2 separate regions of the Homo sapiens genome follow, and region 2 is linked to region 1. Evidence: promoter capture Hi-C in human tissues and cell types (Jung and others, 2019). All regions are on one chromosome and are shown on one strand. The core of a region is centred on a gene start or on the middle of the fragment in contact, and the rest is flanking DNA. Distances in the headings are between cores, read along the strand shown.

Evidence for each region. Contacts are between HindIII fragments. The study calls those that stand out against the background at their distance.
Region 2: a contact is called between a fragment that was not itself captured here and the fragment with the promoter of MRPS6 in region 1, in 9 of the 25 tissues and cell types used here (IMR-90 fibroblasts, adrenal gland, dorsolateral prefrontal cortex and 6 more).

The regions. Positions count from the first base shown.
Region 1 is chr21:34,071,417-34,075,391 of GRCh38, forward strand. It overlaps MRPS6 (mitochondrial ribosomal protein S6), which reads left to right and starts at 2,162. Exons shown (of 3, transcript NM_032476.4): 1 at 2,162-2,329. The coding sequence starts at 2,285. SLC5A3 (solute carrier family 5 member 3) reads left to right here and starts at 2,162. Exons shown (of 2, transcript NM_006933.7): 1 at 2,162-2,329. RefSeq lists silencers at 1,610-2,129, 2,420-2,819 and an enhancer at 2,073-3,023. The HindIII fragment of the contact is 15,607 bases long and covers 1-3,975 here.
Region 2 is chr21:34,146,691-34,150,722 of GRCh38, forward strand. No RefSeq gene overlaps it. Among named protein-coding and RNA genes, the nearest start is that of LINC00310, 32 kb to the right of the region's middle. The HindIII fragment of the contact is 3,436 bases long and covers 833-4,032 here.

The sequences.
Region 1 (3,975 bases), core at 912-3,411:
CGGGCGTGGGCCACTGCACCCAGCCTGTAACTCACTTCTGAAGGTCCAGAAATTCCTTGTTTCCTTCTGTTATTTATAGTACGCTACTTATTTAAACCAAACATGAAGTTAATTGACACTTAGCCAGGCAATTTGGATTACCTGTGTGGCTTCACACAGGTATGGGTTGTAGACAAGTCTAAAAATAGAAAATGTTAAAATCCAGCTATCTCAGAAAAACTTGGGTTCATCTCCATCTCCTACCTCCCATATGTCACAAATAGACGCATGGGATGTGAAATGGTAACCTCTGGGTAAGGTGACAAAGGTACTCTAATCTTGGCTTACGTGGACTACACGGTTAATCCACTGAATAACAATCAGCATCTTCATCTGTGTGGTAGGAGAACCGGAGGTCAGAAGGGTAGAGGGGCGGCTAAAAGTACTTTGTTTCTATTACTGTATGACCTTGGACTAGTTACAAAACTTTTTGTGCCTACATTTCCTAATCCCTAATATGGGGTTAACAGTGCTTGCCTCTGTTTAAAAAAATTACTCAGTGATGCTTACTAAAGCATGGTAAGAAAGACTTTATTCAGGACCAACGCGATGGGTACAGGGATCAGGGAAACCCGGGGAGAGAGAGTGGGCTCCAATTCTGAATGCAGCGTCGGCAAGTAGAAATTTATGGCCATGTAAAATCACTAAGAGTAACCATCGGGGGAAGAGGGATTCTGGCTCAACCGATCTAAAGGATTCTTGTAGAACTCAGGCCAGGGTGAAAAGACATGACTGGGGGATAGAGGAAGATGAGGAACCTGATCTGCTATGAGGGGATGGGGGTTCTGTGCTAGAACTGGATTTTACAAGGAAGTGCACAGATGGGCCTAGCATGAGATTCAGAAGCCTGACTAAAGTTTGGCCAAGCAAAGAATCTTTGTCACCTCAGGGCTGTTGTGAGAATTTTAGGAGACACATCCACCAGCCTTGGCATGGGGCCTGATGCAGAGTAAGTGTTCACTAAACTTTACCTATTAACGTTAAAGCACTTTAAGTTGACAAACACTCCACGTACAGAGCTTTTAATGGGGCAAACAAGGGGCAGAGGCCTCAGCTGCAGGGTACTCAACCTCTAAGGAAGGGCGCTGGAGAAAACTGCACTTGCAGAGCCCCTGGCTGGAGGGCGGAGAACCATGTGGGTGTAAAGGGATGGCAAGGGCAGAACGTATGCCCCTGCCCACCTTAGACAGTTGCTAAAGGGTCTCCCAGGCACTCAGCCTAGCCTTTAAGTGAAAGCGGAGGAAACATTTAAAGAAATGAGATAGAGTTAAGGTGTTCGCCTGCCCTCCGCTGAAACACGTGGGGGCAGGTCAGGGGCACACCACAAATGCCCGTATCGCGCCTGTGTGTACCAGGCACCGTCCTCGGAGGTTAACGTGCAGTAACTCACTCGGGTCCCCACTTTCGGCACAGGCAGCAGGCCCAAGGTCACGCAGTGCCAAGGGACTGAGTCAGACCCGAGCCCGCGCGCCGCGGCCCACGGCCTGTGCCAGCGCGCTCCTCGCCGGGTAGGGGGCCTGGTCAGCCGCGTCAGACCTGAGAGTTGTGGCTGGGGGCGAGAGCTGCACCCCCCTACCGACCCCGGGCGGGAATGTTCCAGAACCCCTGCGAGCAGCCGTTGGCCGCACAGCCCCCGGGCCGGCCGCGACCCCGCCTTGCGCCGCGAAGGTCCCTAGCTCCGGGGAGTCGCGGGCGAGGGGCACGCGCACGGACGAGACCGCACCGCAGCGCACGCGCACTGGCGGGCACTCACTCGCCCGCCGCCCGGGAGGAGAAGGAAGGCATGGAAAGTTCCAGCCGGTTCGAGAGCTAGGTAGCAGGCATGGCAGGAGGCGGGGTAGGGGCAGGCAGGGTCGCGAGGGGGCGTGCGGCCGCCGCGAGCCGCTCTGGGCCGCGTCTGCAGCACCGCCCCTAGCCGCGGCCGGCGGGCTGGGCTGGGGTCGGGGCGGGGGCGGTGCGGCGGGTGCGGGGCTGCGGAGGGGGCGTGGCGGCCGCCCGCGGGCGGAGAGGGGGCGGGGCGGCGGCAAGGCGCGCGGGCGGGGCGGGGCGCGCCGAGGGGGCGTGGCGCGGCGTCTGCGCAGCTGCCAGCGCCTTTAAGCCCGGGCTCGCGCTCTCGGACCGTGCTTTCGCCGCCTGGGAGCCGTCCGGCGCAGCAGTTTCTAGGTCCCCACTGTCCCCGCCGTCCCGCCCCTTCGCGTCCCGGGAACCGGCTGGCTTCCGAGCCGCACTCGCCGATCCTCCAGGCATGCCCCGCTACGAGCTGGCTTTAATCCTGAAAGCCATGCAGCGGGTAAGTGACCTTCCCTCAGAGCCGGTCTTCCCGCGCGGGCGCCCCCGCTGCCGCTAGGCCGCCGTCCCCCGCGCGCCCTGGCCGCGGGACCCCGGGCCTTCCTGCACTCCTCGGAGGAGGCCGGGGCGGCGGGCGGGCGGCGGGCGTCCGCGGGAAGGGGGCGCGCGTGGGCCGGCCGGGCCCGGCCGCGTGCGCGCGGGAGGCGGGGGTGTGCCTGCGCGTGTGCGCGGTCCGGGAGGGTGTGCCTCGCAAGCGGCCCGCCGGGCGGGGGGCGGGGCGGACCGAGCGGGCCCCGACCCCGATCCCGGCGCCGGCCCGCGGGAGTCCAGTGGAAGGTCCGCGGGAGGACACGCGCGGGCGCCCAGCCCGACTCCGGCCCGTCCCCGCCAGTCGTGAAGCTGCCTCGTCGCCGGCCCCGCCGCCGCCGCCTGGTCCGTCCCGCTCCGCCGCCCGCCGGCTGCCGCCGACCGCCTCCGCTCTAGCGCCCGCCGGCCGCCCGGAACGTCCGCGCCCAATAAAGCGTTCCTCCAAAGCTTGTTTGTGCCGTTGTCTGTATTCCAGTCTCTTGCAATCGCTCTCATGTTAAAAAAAAATCTTTTGACTTTTCTTTTTCTGACTTCAGCGAAAATCCCGCTCCGGGTGCCCTTAGCCCAGTTTCATTCATCCAAGTTGTGGCCTTTCTTGCGCCTCCAGAAGACACTTTCTTCCCCCTGCTTTTGATTGATCTTGAGGTAGGGGATTTCAGGTTTGGAGGGATGCTAAGCGAACCAGCGGCCCCTTTCAGGTGACGGCGTGGCCAAGGACAGGGGCCCGCGGCCCGGAGGCAGCTCACTTCGTCCTCTGTCCTGGGTCATGTACTCCTCAAGTCGTCGCCGAAATCCCCATTCTCCCGTGAATTCGGAATTCGGTAACGTAGTTTGGTGTTATGTTTTTTTTTCTCCACCAGGTGTAATAAAACAAAAATCATTGTACCACGTCCGAACTTTGTAAGCACAGCTTCCTACAGCGCTAGAGGAGTGGACGCATTTTTACGTTTGAAATTAGGCTCCAGGTCAATTGCGAGGAGTATTACCAAGTTTGGTTGAACTTAAGCTCAATTGATAAACTAACAATCACGGAGCGTCGGGAGATTGTTAGGAAGTGTGCTTTGCATATTGTTAACTGGGAAGGGACGCCAGTGCCTCTCTATGAGGTCCAGACAGCCTGGCCAGGCATGCCATTGTGTCCCCCAGCTTGTTCTTCATGGATTTGGAAGAAGTTAAGATAGTATCTGTTCAGCCTCTTGAATATCCCTTTTGGCCCTCCTCCTTGCTTACCAGCATATGTAACTCCGAAAGGATAGGAGCAGTGAAAACAAAGCATTATTAAAAGGGAAGATTTTTAATTAGGTGGAAGTTGTTTAAGCCCTCCCTTCAACTTACGTGTTTTAGGGAATGTGGAACCTGGGAAATTCGTTACTGAAATTCCTTTTGTTTACTTTCCTTGTCTTGGGGAGGTAGCAGGTGACACTGAAAGAGGCAACCTGTAGGCAATAATATTTGCTCATTCTGTAACCCTTTGAAACCTTTGAAATGAAGACTTGCCCTCCCCTTTGTTTTTGCCATAGTTGCCAAGTATCTTGGTTAACATGGCTGCAAGTATTAAGT
Region 2 (4,032 bases), core at 1,301-3,800, 76 kb after region 1:
CTGATTATGCCACGAGGGGCTGGCTCTGGATGACCTGCTCCTCTGGGCCCTTCCGACGCTGCACCTAGAGCCAGACCCCAGGCTTCCTCGCTGCCAGAGAAGGGGAGCGCTGGGAGCTGGGGATCCTTGGGAGGGTTTTATTTTTTATTTTATTTATTTATTTATTTTTTCTGAGGCGGTGTCTCGCTCTGTCGCCCAGGCTGGAGTGCAGTGGCGCCATCTCGGCTCACTGCAAGCTCCACCTTCCGGGTTCATGCCATTCTCCTGCCTCAGCCTCCTGAGTAGCTGGGACTATAGGTGCCCGCCACCACGCCCAGCTAATTTTTTGTATTTTTAGTAGAGATGGGTTTCACCGTGTTAGCCAGGATGGTCTCGATCTTCTGACCTCGTGATCCGCCCGCCTCGGCCTCCCAAAGTGCTGGGATTACAGGTGTGAGCCACTGTGCCTGGGAGTGTTTTAAATCTCAGGTCTTCAAACAGAAATCCTGAGAACATCAGAAAATGTTGGTGTCTCCTGGAGACCAGGTATTTTTTTCTCATGATTCTCCCTGCTCTGTAATTCCCACTGCTCATTTCTCTCCACATTGCTCCACGGGTGTCTTTTGAGAGTACACATATGGCAGGTGCTGCTCTGGGCAGGATACAAAGATCAGAGGGGCAGTGTTCTGGCCTCAGGGCTCTCACACGTGGGGGTTGGACTGTTCAGCTGTCTAAAACACAGCCCATAATAAATATAATAACAAATGTTTAAACCAAGTGCTAGGAAACTGGGGCGGGGACGGGGGAGAACTAGATTGACTAGTGCCTGGAATGAGAGTGGGGCCAGGTGGGGAGGTGGTGAGACTGCATGGTGAGCTTTGGGAACCCCTGGGAGGGGGGCAAGTTACAGTGTGATGGTGAGAAGGATGGTGGAAATGTCAGAGTTGCAGGGCTTGTGGCTGGAGGTAAGATTGGGAAGTCAGGTTGCTCAGGGTTTCTTGAAAGATCTTTACAAAGAGCCAAGAATGAGTCTTGTGCATGTTAACTTGCTATAAAACATGCCTCCTAATTGAGTAACCCCATGCTGCCTGCATATTTGTGAGGAAGGAAATAATTCCACTGATTGGCCATGGAGAAGTACAAAGAGGGCTGAGGCAAGGGGTGCAGATGTCTACAAGAAGGTGGGCAGTGTGGACTAGAGAGGGCGAGTGCTCGCCAGGCAACCCCTTCCTGAACAGTGTGTGCTTTGAAATGTGCGTAGGAGCGTGTGAAAAGTACAAATTATTCTCTCTCTGCTGTGGTCTGGGCTACTGCCATTTGCGTTAGGAGGTCTCCGCAGAGAGATGACGGCACCTGTAATGGCCTTGTGATGCTACCTGCCAGTCCCTGGCCTGTTTTCTGCACCTGGAAACAGACAAGTATGGTGTTGATGGTGGGAAGTTTCCAAGGCGATTTGTGGGATTCTTGGTCACCTTGAAAAAATGCAGTAGTGGAATGATCATAGGACTTTGGGTTGGAGAACTGCTCAGAGAACTCTCCACCCACCAGCCTTGACCATGTTCAGTTTCTTCTCCCGGTCTAAGTGTCCTCACATGGAAAATGTGGCCAGTGAAGCAGATGGTCTCAAAGAGCCTGTCCTGGTCTCTAATACCCTGGACCGAGTTACTGCCTGGTTTGCTGAAGAGTTATTCCATCAGTGATTAAAGAACTTGGTAGTTGGTAGGATATGGAGGTGGGGAAGGGTTAAAATAATTTCTTAGAGGCTTATTCTTTGCACACTTCTTTTCATGTTCTGATAAGCATAGCTGTTGTTTTCATAACCTGCCATTGGATTCTGTGGGGCTGACTAGTAATCTCATTCTAAACAGAATAGGCCTGTCTTTAATCACAAGAAAACAGCAAAGGAGTCCCAGAGGTCAGCACAGTCATTTGCTGGGCTCAGATTGCCAGCATTCTTTTTGTTCTCTGAAAATGAAGCTTTAAGGGACATGGCTTACAGCCAAATACAGGCAAGACACATTCTGTTAGTCGCAGGAGGAAAACCATGTCGAAACGAAAAGTCCATATTGGTGGTAGTTTTTTGAGAGCTACACCACAACCCCCAAAATTGACCTCTAAAGTGACAACAGTAAGACCTGGATAATCCTGCACATTCCTAGTGCCACCACAACCCAGTGAGATTAACAAAAGACTCATGGAACCAAACTTCATCCCCAAAGTATTCAGGTCCGCTGGGCTGCTGAAGGGGAGCAGCACTGGTGTCTGGGTGTGGCATCTGAACCTTTGCTTCCAGAACACCAGCATCGTCACATTTCTCAGAGAAAGCAATTTGCCTTGAGACAGTTCCATTGTGAGTGGAAGAGACAAGGGTGCATTGTTCACCAGACAATGCCTGAAGTAAGGATTATGCAAAATGGACTCTTGACCTCTCTATTCCAAATAAGTGGGAGACTCTGTAGTTTCCATAAAGCTTGTATTGAGCTAAATGATGTGACTTGGATGTAGCATCCTTTGTCTAATCGGATACCAAAATGTTAAGCACCTATTTGTGAAAGACTGGATATTACACTTTGACAGAGGTGTCAGGCTCTGTTAATTGGTATCGTGGATGCTCATTATTGGCAGATTCCATATTTGCGAGTCTGCTTACTTGCTAAAATTTATGTCCTCAAAATGAATACCCATGATACTTTTGTAGTCATTCAACGGGTATGTGTAGAGTAGCAAAGAATTTGAGTCACTTGACAAGTCTGTTCCCTGTCGAACAAAGCAACACTCTGCCTTCTTGTTCCAGCTCTCATACTGTAAACAAGTGTCTTTTTCACTATTTAGTGCCATTTTTTTTTTTTGCATTTGTGTGCTTTTTCATGGTGCTTTTGCTGTTTCAAATGGCCCCCAAGTGTAGTGCTGCAGGACTGTGTTCTAAGCGCAAGAAGGCTGTGATGTGCCTTTTGGAGAAGATACCTGTTAGACAAACTTGTTCAGCCATGAGTTCTAGTGCCATTGGCCTTGAGTTCAATGTTAATCAACAGTATGTAGTAAACGTCTTTAAAACGAAACACACATAAAACAAGCTCACGGATTGATGGGTTGACATAAGCGTTGTGACCAAAGGCTAACCTAACCCTGTATTTCCCCTAGGAGCGATAATTCAGGGTTCTCTAAGTCAGTGTTGATGGCAACTTTAAAGAACACAACTACTGCAGATAACAAGAATAGGCTCTATTTGATGCAGGAATTTTGCTTAGTTTTCTGCTGAGGGTCTTTTTGACATCTTTCTGTAAATCTCCAACTTTTACCTGCAAAAAAGGGGAGTTTGATTCCCACCATTTTTCTTACTCTGCTTGTCTTGTCTGTCTCCCACCATCCTGCCTCCTCTTCTCATGCACACAAACTTTCATCCTCCACCATCTCCCGTCCACTAGGCAACTATGACATCTGCATGAGCAAGGGGCCTTCTCTTTGAAAGGAGCCCTTAGAAAAGTACCTTGGCAGAGAATTTGGTGATGTGGCCAGAAAGAGCCAGACTGTACTAGGAGAGCCTGGATGCAGTACTCCTGTTACCTTCCAGCCTCAGGAACAGGCAGATTGGATGGGGTTTAGTGAGGCCAAGGAAAGGGATAATTAGTAAGTATAGCAACTCTCCTCTGCAGGCACCATGACAGCTCAGGAGTTTTCAAATACTCTCCAAATACATTTTAATTACTTTTAAAACACCAGCAAAGGGTCATTCACAAAGCAAAATCACAGGGGATTTTAAAGGCGCTGATTTTATAAAGTTAGCAGTTAAATGTTTTAAAAGCTTGTTCCTCTTCCATATATCTTACCAGATCTAAAAATAATATGAAGAAGTTATTTATAAATGTGGCTAAGTAAAATGCTAAAGAAATCTCTGTTAACCGCTCTGTTAACCCAAATGGTTTTGGGGTTAAATCTCTGTTCTGGCAAGCATGACGCTGTAACAGTGAGTGTCCTCACCTTGTAGCGCTATTCGTACTCCCTTTCCTTTCCTAAAACTGGCACATGGATTGAGAAACTAGAAACCTATGTTTG